2 separate regions of the Homo sapiens genome follow, and region 1 is linked to region 2. The links are contacts of gene promoters, found by promoter capture Hi-C in human tissues and cell types (Jung and others, 2019). All regions are on one chromosome and are shown on one strand. The core of a region is centred on a gene start or on the middle of the fragment in contact, and the rest is flanking DNA. Distances in the headings are between cores, read along the strand shown.

What was found. Contacts are between HindIII fragments. The study calls those that stand out against the background at their distance.
Region 1: a contact is called between a fragment that was not itself captured here and the fragment with the promoter of RBFOX1 in region 2, in 4 of the 25 tissues and cell types used here (H1 embryonic stem cells, mesendoderm cells, neural progenitor cells and 1 more).

What each region holds. Positions count from the first base shown.
Region 1 is chr16:6,062,182-6,069,073 of GRCh38, reverse strand. The region is part of intron 1 of RBFOX1 (RNA binding fox-1 homolog 1); the gene reads right to left. Among named protein-coding and RNA genes, the nearest start is that of RBFOX1, 47 kb to the right of the region's middle. The HindIII fragment of the contact is 3,700 bases long and covers 3,329-6,892 here.
Region 2 is chr16:6,016,111-6,022,351 of GRCh38, reverse strand. It overlaps RBFOX1 (RNA binding fox-1 homolog 1), which reads right to left and starts at 3,328. Exons shown (of 16, transcript NM_018723.4): 1 at 2,360-3,328. The HindIII fragment of the contact is 10,336 bases long and covers 1-6,241 here.

The sequences.
Region 1 (6,892 bases), core at 3,929-6,428, 45 kb before region 2:
TCTGCTTCCTTTCTTCCTTCTCTCCTTCCCTTCCTTTCTCCCTTCCTTCATTCTTTTTTTTATAAATATGTTTATTAAACGCCTACTTTGTAGCAGGCAACAAAGCAATAAACAAAAGAAAAGCTGTCTTGCCCTCCTGTTCCCGGGCCAAACTGAGTGTCGGAATGCTTATTCTCACTGCCCCAAAATAAGATGCAGGTGAACTGGGAGACAAGGGAGTTTATTCCTGTAACCGGGTACAGGGAGAAGGCCTGGGAAATATCACCAGACCAACTTAAAATTAGAAAGTTTTCCAGAGCTTATACAGCTTCTAAGCTATATGTCTACCTGTAAGTGTGCATTCCTCTAAAGACGTAAGTGATTAACTTCTCATCTATAAGATCTGAGTCCTGAAGACCTTCCTCTGCAGCCTCAGTAAATTTACTTAATCTAAATGGGTCCAGGTGCTGGGATGATTATCCTTATCTTGTCTCCTGCTAAATCATGGAGGTTTGGGGAGTCCCTTCAAACCCCGAATAAACTTGTTTGTGGATACCTGGGGAGTATCTTCACAACCCCAATAAAACTTGTTTAACCCCAAACGGTTCCTATTAAGAATTCCTTCATTATTTTGTCATGCTTCAAGGCCCAGGAAAGGCCTAGGCACAACTCTAGGTAGGCTTTTGATACACTCCAGCCTTTGTATAAAGGCACTGGCTCTCTCAGCTTTTAATATTTACCTTAACTACTCAGTCAGCACTGAGACAGTTGTTACAGAAGGCTGTGTTAGTGCGACCTGGCCTGCCACATTCCTGAAAACAAAGTAAGGCTGAAGTCTGCTGAAGACGCATTTCCCAAGCTGCCAGGGAGCTTGCACTGGACCACAAGCCAGGTATGTATGATCTCAGACCCAAAGGGGAGCAGACGTATAAGAAACACAGCCTCGCATCCCTACAGAACCATGTTTCCTTAGTGAAACTACTAATGGACAAAAAAATGAATGAAGAGCCTAATATCAAAAAGATTGCAGGCAATTAAACAGAACTCTGAGAATAAAAGAAAATCGAGGAAATCTTGGTCATATTGATAGAAAGACTGTGTTTTCCCTGTAAAATGAACACAATAAACCTATTCACACAAAGGCTAGTTGGATACTGTTCAAGTTATTGGCATTTATGATCATAAATTTACCCCAATTGCTACAATAACAAATGCACATATGCTTAAGTGTCTAGAAAGCTTAGTCTGTGAGTTTTCAGTGGGCTGGTATAATTAAACAGTAACTGTCAATTTCTTAATCCTAAAGCAATCATTTTGCTCTAGGTAATGAGCTTTTTATATATTTTTTTCCCATCCTCAGCAAGTAACAGCTCTTCCTCAAATTGGTTTTAATGGATTTAGCCCTCAGCAACCCACCCTTTGCAGATAATTCCTTCTATGGAGAAAGATTTCTCTAGGGAAGCTGAGGCTGTACCTTCATGGAAAAGCAAAACTTCTCTCTGATGAAACAAAAAATCTCTCTCTCCCAACATATTTCATCAAAATAGTTTGGATATTCTACCTAATATTAAGTTATGTAATATCCACATCACACAGGTAAGACAAGTACGGTTAGTGATTTATTTCTATCTTATTTTCAATGAAACTTTGAATTCCTATCCAGGCATTCGCTTGTATTTTCAGGGTGTTTGTTTGTTTGTTTGTTTGTTTGGTTGGTTTGTTTTTGCCTCTATTCACTTCTGCTATTAACAAAATGAAGCTATATCGGGCACAGAATGTCTCTGAAAAAGTGTTTGGCTTTTAAGAGTACAGCCCCAGAACGAAAAACAGGATTAAAAACCAGCTTAACTTCTGTGTGTAGACTTTTGGCCTGCATGCCCTGTAGGTAAGAATCGAGGACGTAAGGAGTTCTATTTTTAATGTCTTCTTACAGAAGCACCATGAACTTAGCAATGCACAAAATTTATGACACACTCAATCTTATAACATGAGGGAGAGGGACTCGGCAGTGACTTTTCCATTGCATTTCCCATGAATCTCAGATCACTTGTAAATTGCAGAGCCTGACATTTAAACTGTGCCGTGTTGATAGTTCAGGCACCACCCTTTCTCCCTGCCGCCCTCCCCCGCCCCCTACTCTGGGAGACCAAGGCTGAGGCTTCATTTCATAATACACCATAATGGTGAGTCAACGGTCAAATGCAGCCTGTTAAGTCTAAAGCAATTACCTTCTGCTGCAAATAAAGAAAAGCCCATGTCTCTACCTCTGAGTGGAGGGCAGAATGAGCAGAGAGACTCTGAGAACCATATGGCCAGCTTCAGCTTGCATCCTTGACATCGTACCCGGCACCTGGGCAAAGGCCAATGCTTGGCACAGTATACCTGCTGCCATTTTTGTCCAAACACTCATCTATTTCGGGAGACTTCCACCTGCCCTTTCTGCTCAGCTATCCTGAGAATCCAAATTCTGGCATAATGAGTTCCTGCTGTCAAAAATCGTAAGTTCTATGTACATTTTTCCAGATAATGTATTTAAATGGCATCCATGCTCAACCGTGGACTACTGTTGAAAAATACTGCATAACCACCTTACTGCATGTATTCCCATTTCTCAGCTGCATCTAACTTAGCAGCACTGTATCTGAACAAAGGGTTTTTCCCTTCTGATGTCTACATTTTCAATAATAGCTGATGCTCTGCAGTCTTAGAAATTGGATTTTTTTTTAATTAGTGCTTTCTATTTACCCTCTCAACTGCCACGTCTGAATTATGCCTTTTTTTTTTTTTTTTTTTTTTTTTTTGAGACAGAGTCTTGCTCTGTAGTCAGGCTGGAGTGCAGTGGCACAATCTTGGATCACTGCAACCTCCAACCCCCCCAGTTCAAGCAATTCTCCTGCCACAGCCTCCCAAGTAGCTGGGACTACAGGCACATGCCACCACACCCAGCTAATTTTTGTGTTTTTAGTAGAGAGGGGGTTTCACCGTGTTGGCCAGCAGGGTCTCAATCTCCTAACCTCATGATCCACCCTCCTCGGCCTCCCAAAGTGCTGGGATTACAGGCATGAGCAATTATACCTCTTAATACTACCATTAAAGTGTTGAAGTCGGAAATATATCTCAAGATCTCATGCTTAGCGCACTTTCCAAATTATCAAGACTAGGAATCCTTCTGTTGACACTGGCAGGCAATCACTTCATATGAGGACAACCCTAGTCCTCGGAGGCAAAATCCAGACCCCAAGGACTACTGAGGCTTTAAGTGATTTTAGCTAAGTGAGCCTCTGTTTTCTCATCTATAAAATGGGGATATTCATCCCATGAGGCTGTTATAAGCATTACATGAGATGATACAGAGACACTGTCTGGAACTTAGTAGGTCTACAGAGGAAGGGGCAGAATTCAAAGCCAGGTCTTCTAACCACATTATATCACATCTCAAAGACGAGGAGAAATGAAACTTTGGAGGTTCGTGAAATCCAGTTTGAAGGATGAAGATTTGTTTCTGTATCTGCTAAGAAACCCCCAGTGATTTCTGAGCAGGTTACGGGCATGTCAAAGTAATTAATTAGGAATGAAACAGACAGAGGACTGAGTGGAAACCGCAATGATATATCAGAGGCTTTGAAATGATCTATGACCATGAAGAAAGCCAGCAAGAAAAGCAAACCACCTAAGAACACACAATAGCACTGAAACTGTGACCACCAGCTGTATGAAAACAGACATCCCCAGTGTTCCTAGGCATCCATAAGAATCATAGGGCCGCGTGCGGTGGTTCACACCTGTAATCCCAGCACTTTGGGAGGCCAAGATGGGAGGATTGCTTGAGACCAGGAGTTTGAGACCAGCCGTGGCAACACAGCAAGATCCTGTCTCTACAGAAAAAAAAAAAAAAAAAAATTAGCCGGTGATGGTGGCACACACCTGTAGTCTCAGCCACTCTGGGGGATGAGGTGGGAGGATCACTTGAGCCCGGGAGGTCAAGGCTGCAGTAAGCCAGGATCACACCATTATACTCTAGCCTGGGTGACAGAACAAGACCCTGTCTCAAGAAAAAGAAAAAAAAAGAAAGAAAGAAAGAAAAGAAATATATAGAAAAACAGTCACGTAGGGAGGTTTTTTTTTTAATTTTTAATTACAGATACTGGGTCTTACTCAAGACCTGTTGATTCGGATTCTCCATGTCTTGAGATCTGAAATGTTTCTACATCCAAGTTAGTGTGTGTGTGCAATTCAAATACAATGTCAGGTTTGGAAATCATTGATGGAGGGGCAAGATCCAGGGGCATATTATTCAAAAGCATACACACAAAAGACCTTCTGAAAATTGTGTGTATACATCCTGGCTAATATGGTGAAACCCCGTCTCTACTAAAGATACAAAAAATTAGCTGGGTGTGGTGGCATGCACCTGTAGTCTCAGCTACTTGGGAGGCTGAGGCAGGAGAATCACTGGAACCCGGGAGGCGGAGGTTGCAGTGAGCCGAGATCGCACCACTGCACTCCAGCCTGGTGACAGAGCGACACTCCGTCTAAAAAAATAATAATAATAAAAAAAAGAAAATTGTATGTATTCTGCCTATGTGAAAAGAAAATGTGGGAATGGATTTGCTTACTACATTGCCCACTTGGAGTACTACTTAATCAAGTATCCCCCCAAAGATAAATTTAATGAAATTATTCACAAATTCTAAGTAATTTTGTGGAGGTAGGAAGGATGTTATAGAAAACTACAAGCAGACATTTTGCACTCATGCTTGCATTTGGAATGCTCCAGATGTCTTCATTTAGAGAGATCCACTGTAGCTAAAATTATATTCATGGAGGACAGTTATAGATATGGAATAAACCTAGGGCTTCAGATTTTTAAAGAACGTATAGGTCATCTCTTTCAACCCCTTTCATAATGCAAGAATAGGCTCTATAATATCCTAGACAGATGATCATGTAGCTGAAATACCTTCAGTAGTAAGGAGCTTGTTATTAATTGGTAGTACTGACCAAAAGGGGAATGTATCATACTCGCATACAATATGTACAATATATAGGGAAATGCACCAAGATATGTAATATAAAATAATACATTAGAGGGTTAGAGGTTATAGGAATTGTAAAGATATAATCATGTGGTTAAATATGCTTGGAAATATTATATGTGTTATGCTTACAGAAATAAAAGGTAATAAATTAATGAATTCTGGAGAGAGAAATCTTGGCCAGTAAAGGATATAAAGACAGACAACTTAAGGACAAGGAGGCTGTCAAGCATCTACATCCCAGTGACCACCTAATGGAATGAATCAAAGACACAGTTGGAGTCCACCCAAGAGGGAACAAGACATCAGCTAAGGAGGGAATGTGCACTCTGTGCTCCTGGTTGCCCTGGTGACAGGACCCCACTTCTCATGCTAATGGCATTATAATGAATACAACCGCCTGAAAATAAAATAAATGGTAAGCTTGATAATAGAGTAAACGATCGTCTTGAGAGCTGCAGTGTGGAGAGGACCCAGGATGTAGTTTTGGTGGTGGGTGTTAACAGAACAATATGATCAGTGAGGAAGGTACTAGGGGAAAAATATAAGGGGGTGTGTGTGTGTGTGTGTGTGTGTGTGTGTGTGTGTGTGTGTCGGAGAAAGAGAACAGACGCTAATGATGGATAATGCTTGAGACAAGTAATATGTCTGCCATTTCTCTTCCTGATATGCTCCACACTGGAAAACCTAAATTAAGTGTTAATGAACCCATATTGATTTCCCTGTTCCCCTCATCATGAGGAAGGTAGCCTGGCCTGGGAGACTCAATTGAAACTCAATGTCTTAGCAAGTTGGCATATCATGTGGTGATCATGGCAGCCTCTGCCTTGATAGTTTTCTTTCCCTCTTGCTGCTCCAAAGTGATCAAGCTCATCAAGATGATAAAGGATGCTGGGATGGTCAGCGTATGTGTTAACTAGTCTAGGTGGTGGTGTCCCGTTGTTTGCTCAAACATTCATCTACGTGTTTCTGTGAAAGTATTTTACAGATGTGAATGACATCTATCATCACAGCTGACTGTATGTCAGGGAGATTACCTTGAAAAATATGGGTGGGCTTCACTGAATCCATTGAAGTTCTTCAGGGCAAAGATGGGTTTTCTGGAGAAGGAATTGTGCCTTAAGACTGTAACACAGAAATTCTGCCTGAGTTTCCAGCCAGCTGGCCTACAGATTTCAGACTCAAGACTACAACATCAACTCTCATCTGAATTTCCAGCCTGCTAATCTGCCCTACAAATTTCATATTTGCCGCCCCTAGAAGCACATGAGACAATTCCTAAGAGTAAATATCTCCACACAGTGATAGTCAAAGAGATACATGTCTTGAGATAGTGATATAAATGTAACTATATATGCATAGATACATATATACATATATAGATATATATCTATGTATAGATACATATAGATATGTATATATGTATATGTTATATATATTTATATATTATGTAACATATATACATATATACAATCTCTATAGATATATATGTTATATATACATATATAGATACAAATATATAATTTGATATTGTGATTTATAAGAAATATGTATGTGGTTGCTGAACCTGGTTCTTGGAGCACAGCTTCTAAAACCATTGGGATCTCCAAAGTGATAAGGGTATCTTTTGTATGTTAATGAGATGACTGATGGCTGGGACCCTTGGATAGCCTCAGGATGGGGGATGGTTGCCAGGGGGACCTACCTTCTAGTTAGAGGGTAGGAATTTTCTGTCCTACCTCTTGACCTCTTGAGAGGGCAGGGGGGCTAAAGATGGAGTTGATCACCAATGGCCAATGATGGAATCAATCAAACCTATTTAATGAAGCCTCCATAAAAACCTGAAAGGACAGTTCAGAGAGCTTCTTAACTAGTGG
Region 2 (6,241 bases), core at 2,079-4,578:
GAGGAATGATAAAGCCACTTCTAATATTCTTCGATTCTTGTGTTTTCAAAATATTCTATGTATTAAATAAATGATGTTCTAATTAAAAAAAAAAAAACAGATTTGCTAAGGTAATACTTTCATCCCAGGGGGCCAAGGAGATCAAGTCCTTTCAGTGGGTCAGAAGAAATGTACAACTGCTGCAAAAACTTAATTTCAGGTGCTTGTCAAGACAGCAAGTCAAATGCCACCAACCTATATCTTGGCCAGTGGGTGGGCAGCTTGTCCGTGATCCTCCTTGGAACATGCAGAGAGCAGAATGGGAGAGCTTGAGGCTTCTGTTCCTTACTTAAAAGAAAACGTGTGTGTATAAGGCAAGCCACCTGCCTTTCCTGTACCACTCGGTGCTACAAGGCTCAAAAATTAGAGGAATCTACTTGAAAGAATAAAGAAACAAAACTCATAGAATTCAGGCACTTACCATGTGCCAAACTGTTCTAAATGTTTAGTGCTTTAAGTAATTTACCCCCAAACCCTCTGAGGACAGAACTACGACTGAAACTCTGATTTTACAGGTGACAACCCGAAGCTCAGAGAGGTAAAGCAACTTGCCCAAGGTCACACAGCTGGCAGATAACGGATCCAGAAGCCCTGTGCTCTTCTGAGCCATAAAGCTCCACTCTCTGGACCCCTAAGGTGTCACTTCCACTACCGCGAGGAATGATGACTTTTCTTCCTAACCCGAGGCAACCATAAGCTAACTTAAGGAAAGCCCAGGGGATTCTTCCAAACGGAGGGCCTCCCTGACGAGCTCAAAGAGGACACAGGTTTTGAGTCAGCCCCACTTTTTACCAGCACAGCCACTGCCAGCACCACCTTTACCCTTCACAGGCCCCAGGTCCTTTGCTTCTGAACATAAAAGATCTTAGCTAAAAATAAATCTGCCAGTAGCTCCAGCCGGGGCCTCTGTGGTCACTTAAAAATTGAAAGAATCCAGGCCCTCTCATCTTTTTTTTCTCTCTTTTGTAACAAAGATAAAATGATAAATGGAGGGGAGATGAACTAGGACAGGGGGCAGGGAAGGGATGGCAGGCTGGGGCATGTCCTAAACTTGGGCTGTCAAGGCCAGGCCTCTCTGCACAACGGAGTTTAAAAATAAAAATAAACAATCATTATTCTAATAAAGGAAAACCCAAGTTAGGAGACATGATGTTTCAACTCAACAAAGCTATTTCACCACACTCCCCCACTTCTTTTCAAGTTCAACTGAAAAGATCCGCCTTTGGGGTGCCAATTGCCCGGACTGCCTGACCAGGATTTCCAAGCTCTTCAGTAGCCGCACCCCAGATGTTCCAGTGCCAGCAGGTGCACCCCAGCTCTGGCCCACACAGGAGCGATGAGCTCTCCCAGCCCCCTGACCATTCCCTGGCAGCAAGGAATGGAGCTGGGGGCTCCAGGACAAGGTTAGATCGGGGTCTTCCCCTCCCTTGCTGAGTGGACAGCTTCCGGGCTCCGCGTGACACCTGGTCCCCGCAGCTGGCGCCAGGGAGGCTCCAGGAGCTCACAGCCAAGTGGCCTCCTGGGCGGTGGGGAGATGGGAGCGGCGCCCCACTAGCCCCGCCCTCGCTTCCATAGCTGGACAATTGGTTGATTGGAGCTGACAAGCCCCCCCCTGGCCTGCACAACAACACAGGGCTAAGATCTGCTACCCCTGTGTTTCCTTCTCTGGGGTGAAGGTTCTCTAAGGCTCCCAGGAACCAGGGGCACAGTAGGAGTTTCCCATTCGCAGGTTTCCCGGCTGGCCCCCTCCCCTGGGGTCGAGGTGGCACCGCGGGGCATCGATTCCAGTGCCAGTAAACACAGCGGCGCTTTCTCCACATAAGTGAGCCTTCTCTTCCCCTCCTCCCACAAGGGGTTCGGGGCACCTAAACACCCTCCCGGGTCACTAAGATGCCTCCTCCTGCACACCCTGCGGGCGGAGGCAGCGGTCCGGGGGCGCGCTGAGTGCACGCTTGCAGCCGGCCAGGGAGACTAATCAAAGTGCGCAGGCAGGCTCCCGCTGCTCCTGGCACCTAGGACTCGCTCCCAGGAGGACGGACGAGGTAGCCTGGATGCTTCGGAGGGGCGCTCTGGGGCAAGGAAGGACGTGCTTCTGGAAGCGACGCACAAGGGGGCTCAGGGTCTCGGCCTCCTGGGGGTAGGGGGGGACACGCCTCGAGATCTTTCCACACACCCTGAAAAAGTTCCCGTCCAGAGCGCCCAGACTGGCGCTAGGAGGAGGCCAGTTCTCGGGGACCTAGCGCTTCCCTCCATGAGACCTTCTGGACCTGACCCACCAGGTCAGGGTGGGTGCAGAGGCAATGACTCCGCCTGGACTTACCTAGAACTCCCGGCGAGCCCGGCTGCGGTCACGTTCTCGGCCCCAGACCCCCGAATTCCCGTGCGCTCTCTGCACCCCCAGCCACACTCACCATAAGCTGGAGGCGGCGGAAGGGGGTGCTGGTTTCTCACGCACTGTCCGCAACTTCGCGGGCAGGTCAGCCCCGCCCTGGCGCGCCTGCCTGGGCGCGGCGAGGGTCCGGACAGGCGGGGACCCTGGCGGCCACTGGGTGGGGGTCTGGAGCGCAAGGACTCTCAATCCCGGGCGCGCGGTCCGCTCCTGCTCTCTCTGCCTGGGCAAGAAGCTCGGAGTTCTCCTGCTCCGGACGCCGGGGCGGGGCCCACGGCTGGCTGTCCCCTCCAGATGTGGGGTGCTCGGCTCGGCTCACTCCTTCCTTCTTCAGCCCCGGAGGCGCGCGCGTGGGTCCAGCCAGTGCCGCCGCCTCTGCTGTTCCCGGGGCTGGCAGAGCGCCCCCGCCCCACCGCGGGTGCTGCTGGGGGGCTGGGGCGGAGGGGGAGGGATTCCCCTCCGCGAGTTCGGGTTTCCCCACCCGACGCGGCCCCTGGGCTCCGTCCGCCGTCCGCCACCCTCCGCGCTGCTTGGAGAACCACTTCAGGGCAGCGCAGCCAGTCCCACCGACTCTGGCTGGAGGAGGCGGCGGCAGCGCGGCTCGCACGGGGACTGGAAAGGAGGTGACCTTCAAACCCCGCGCTCGGGAGACCAGGAAGGGGGCTGGGGTGATCGAGGGAGCGGTGTGTGCACCCAGACGGCCAGCAAGAGCGCTTGTAGGAGGGCGGGAGAGAATAAAGAGGAAATCTTCCAGTAAAAATATAGATTAGAAAATAAACAAAGGAGAGCCGGAGAGAGCGCGAGAAAATGTGTGCATGTGTGTGTGTGCGTGTGTGTCTGTGTGTGTGTGAGCGCGCGACAAGCAGCGAGCAGCCCCGGCTGCGGAGCCAAAAATAATCTGGTGCGCGAGGGAGCGCCCCCTCCCCCTTCCCCTCGCCAGCGCCGCCGCCGCCGCGGTCACGCGTGCAGCCCTGGATTCCAGCGGGCGGCGGCGGCGGACACGCGACCCGGTACCCTGGTCTCCTGGCCTAAAGGGGACAGAGGGTGAAAGTTGGATGCTGGGGCAATGAGCCCAGGACTTTCACCTGCGCCCGTCCTCGTCCTGGTAGTCCCCAGGTGGGCTCACTCATTGAGCACCAGCGCCCTCCTCCCAACCCCAATCAAAGTAGACAAATCCCCCACTAGAGACGCCAAGTGGAGGCAGCTTCTTGCCCCAGTCCATTTCTTCTCTGAGGAAGTTTTCTGGCAAGTCTTCAAATCTTCCGGCCAGGCAGAGATCGAGCCCTATCCAAGATTCAAAAAGTTCTCCAGGCTGGATGGGATGCAGGGCTGGGGTGGGTGCGGCTGGCCTGGGACGCCCCCACCCCGCACAGCTGGGCCTCTCCTGTCCTGCCCCCTTCCTGGCCACCTACTCCCGCAATGGACGCTGAAGGGGTCTAGGGATTGTCCTCCTAGCAGATGTCTTACAGCCAGAAGCCCCATGACGCCTTAATACACACTAGCACTTAATAAGCATTTACTTTCCACCAGATGCTGTTTTAAGCACTTTACATGGAGTCTTTTCAACAACTGGAAGTAGATACTGGAGGTTTATCCATTTCACAGATGCTTAGAGAGATTAAAGCAATATTTCTCCCTTCCTGGGTCCCACTCTGGACTGGAGTGAGAAACTCTGCTCTTCCCCTACCTTTTCCTTTCCCTCCCTCCCTTCCTTCCTCCCTCCCTTTCTTCCTTCCTCCTTTCCTCCCTTCCTTCCTTTCTCCCTTCCTCTTTTTTCCACAAATATTCCAGGGGGTTTTGTTGTACAATAAAGTCAGTCTGAGGTTCAGTGAGTTGTAATTTGTTCAAGGTCACATAGCTGGCAAGGAACCAGGACTCCCCAGGCAGTCTACCTCATTTTATGTGGCACCACCCTGCCTTCTGAAGGGCAGGTGGCATTGGACAAGGCCAGATTCCAGCCTTGAGCACTTGATCTGAGGCGCCTGTTCATTTTCCCATCCTGTGATGTGACTGTGTTTGCACTTATACCATGGATCCTCTTATAAGAAATGCTGTAAGCTTTCCAAAACAGGGGGCCATGTGATGTGCATTCCTTTGTACTAGATGTACGTGTATTTCCTAGCGCCCATCAAGGAGCAGATTCCTTAAGGGTTCCTCTTGCAATCCTATCGGGCTGCGGTTTCTTTCAACCTCAGAATAAAAGAAAGGGAACTTCTGCCTATAACTATATTACTTTTTAAAGCACGCAATATTTAATCATCATTTGAAAAAGTAAGTTTGCAAAATCCAGAAAGATATCTTTATCATTGGTCCCAGCGATTTTGCAATTTGGGTTGATTTTTACCATATGTTTCCTTAGGATTCTCTTTGATAATAATATATTTGTATGTAAGCAATTTTTTTTTCTTTATACTAGTCTCATCCTTCAGTGATAGCAAAATGAAACCATAAATCTGGGTTGGTAACATCATAATCATTTCCCCCAGAAACTGTTCACAATGGGAAAACCGCCGAATTTAAATGTAATTGTCTAGCCATGCAGGGAGATGAGATGGGTTGTAAAAGAGGTATTCTCAATTTAAAAGCAAATTATCAATAATGATAGAAGAAATAAATGGCAGTTAACGGGAAATTCTGTTGGAATATACTGTTTTGTGCAAATTCACCAACAGGAATTGTTTGTCTATTCTCCTTCATTTTTTATTCCAGAAAGGAACAAATGAATGCAATCATTCAAGGCAGTAACATCAGCTGTTGTTACATTAAAATGGGTAATTGCTGGGCCCTTTGATTATTTTTAATACATATATATATTTACCATTGGAAATAAAACATATTCATCTATCTGAAAATCAAGTTCAGCTTGAGTCTGCTCTGATTTATTTATTGTAGAGTAGAAATAGGCTTAGATAGATTAGTGATGAGTGTCAGGCATGACTCACTGGTACCTGTATTGCTACATGGCTTAAGAATATGAGTGTGAGAGGCATCCATTACAATTTAAAACAAAATTAGAGTAAAGATCAATATGGCATGCCATTATGCTATTCATTTGGAAAGTATTAGTTTCTTTCTCACAATGACCTTTCGCATTCCAAGTAGAGTTTTTCCTGTCATTTCTCCATGTTGAGCCACTGGAAGATAAATGAGAGGTGCTGAAGTTGACAGCTCCCAGGACAACCTAGGGCCAAGAATCGCCCTGCTATGGTTAGAAAGAACCTGGAGACTTTGGCTCCTCCTACTGGACATGAAAAATACTTTCCAATTTGTGATCTAAGCAAATGTCAAAAATGGTACCTTTCATAAAGCTGGTTTAAAAAGAACAAGGACTTTGTAGCCTTGTGCTTGGCTGAGAGCTCTCTAAAGTGTAAATTTCATCATCTTACTTTAAAACTTAGGATCTTCCTATAGCTCTTCATTATTCCCCAGGATAAGGTCTAAAGTTGTCCATGTGGTTTACCAGCTCCTGGCTCTTTTTAAGTTCACTCTGTGACCCAGGAGGGCTTTTCTCTTGTTGTATCCAATCTTTTGTATATGTTGTTCCTCCAACCAGGAATACCCTTACATACTCTCTTTTCCTGGATAGCTTCTGTTTAGTTTTTAGATCTCCATTTCAATATCACTTTCTCCCTGCCAATCCCTCAACTCCCTACCCAGCCCCCCATAGGCACAGATAAGGTGTTCTTGCGAACTCCTCTAACACCTCCATTTACCTTTACCCTGTCATTTGTCTCAGCTTACTGTAAATGTTGTTCTCTTCTATTAAACTAAAAGGTCTTTACATCAAAGATTTGTTCCCTGATGCACAGCACC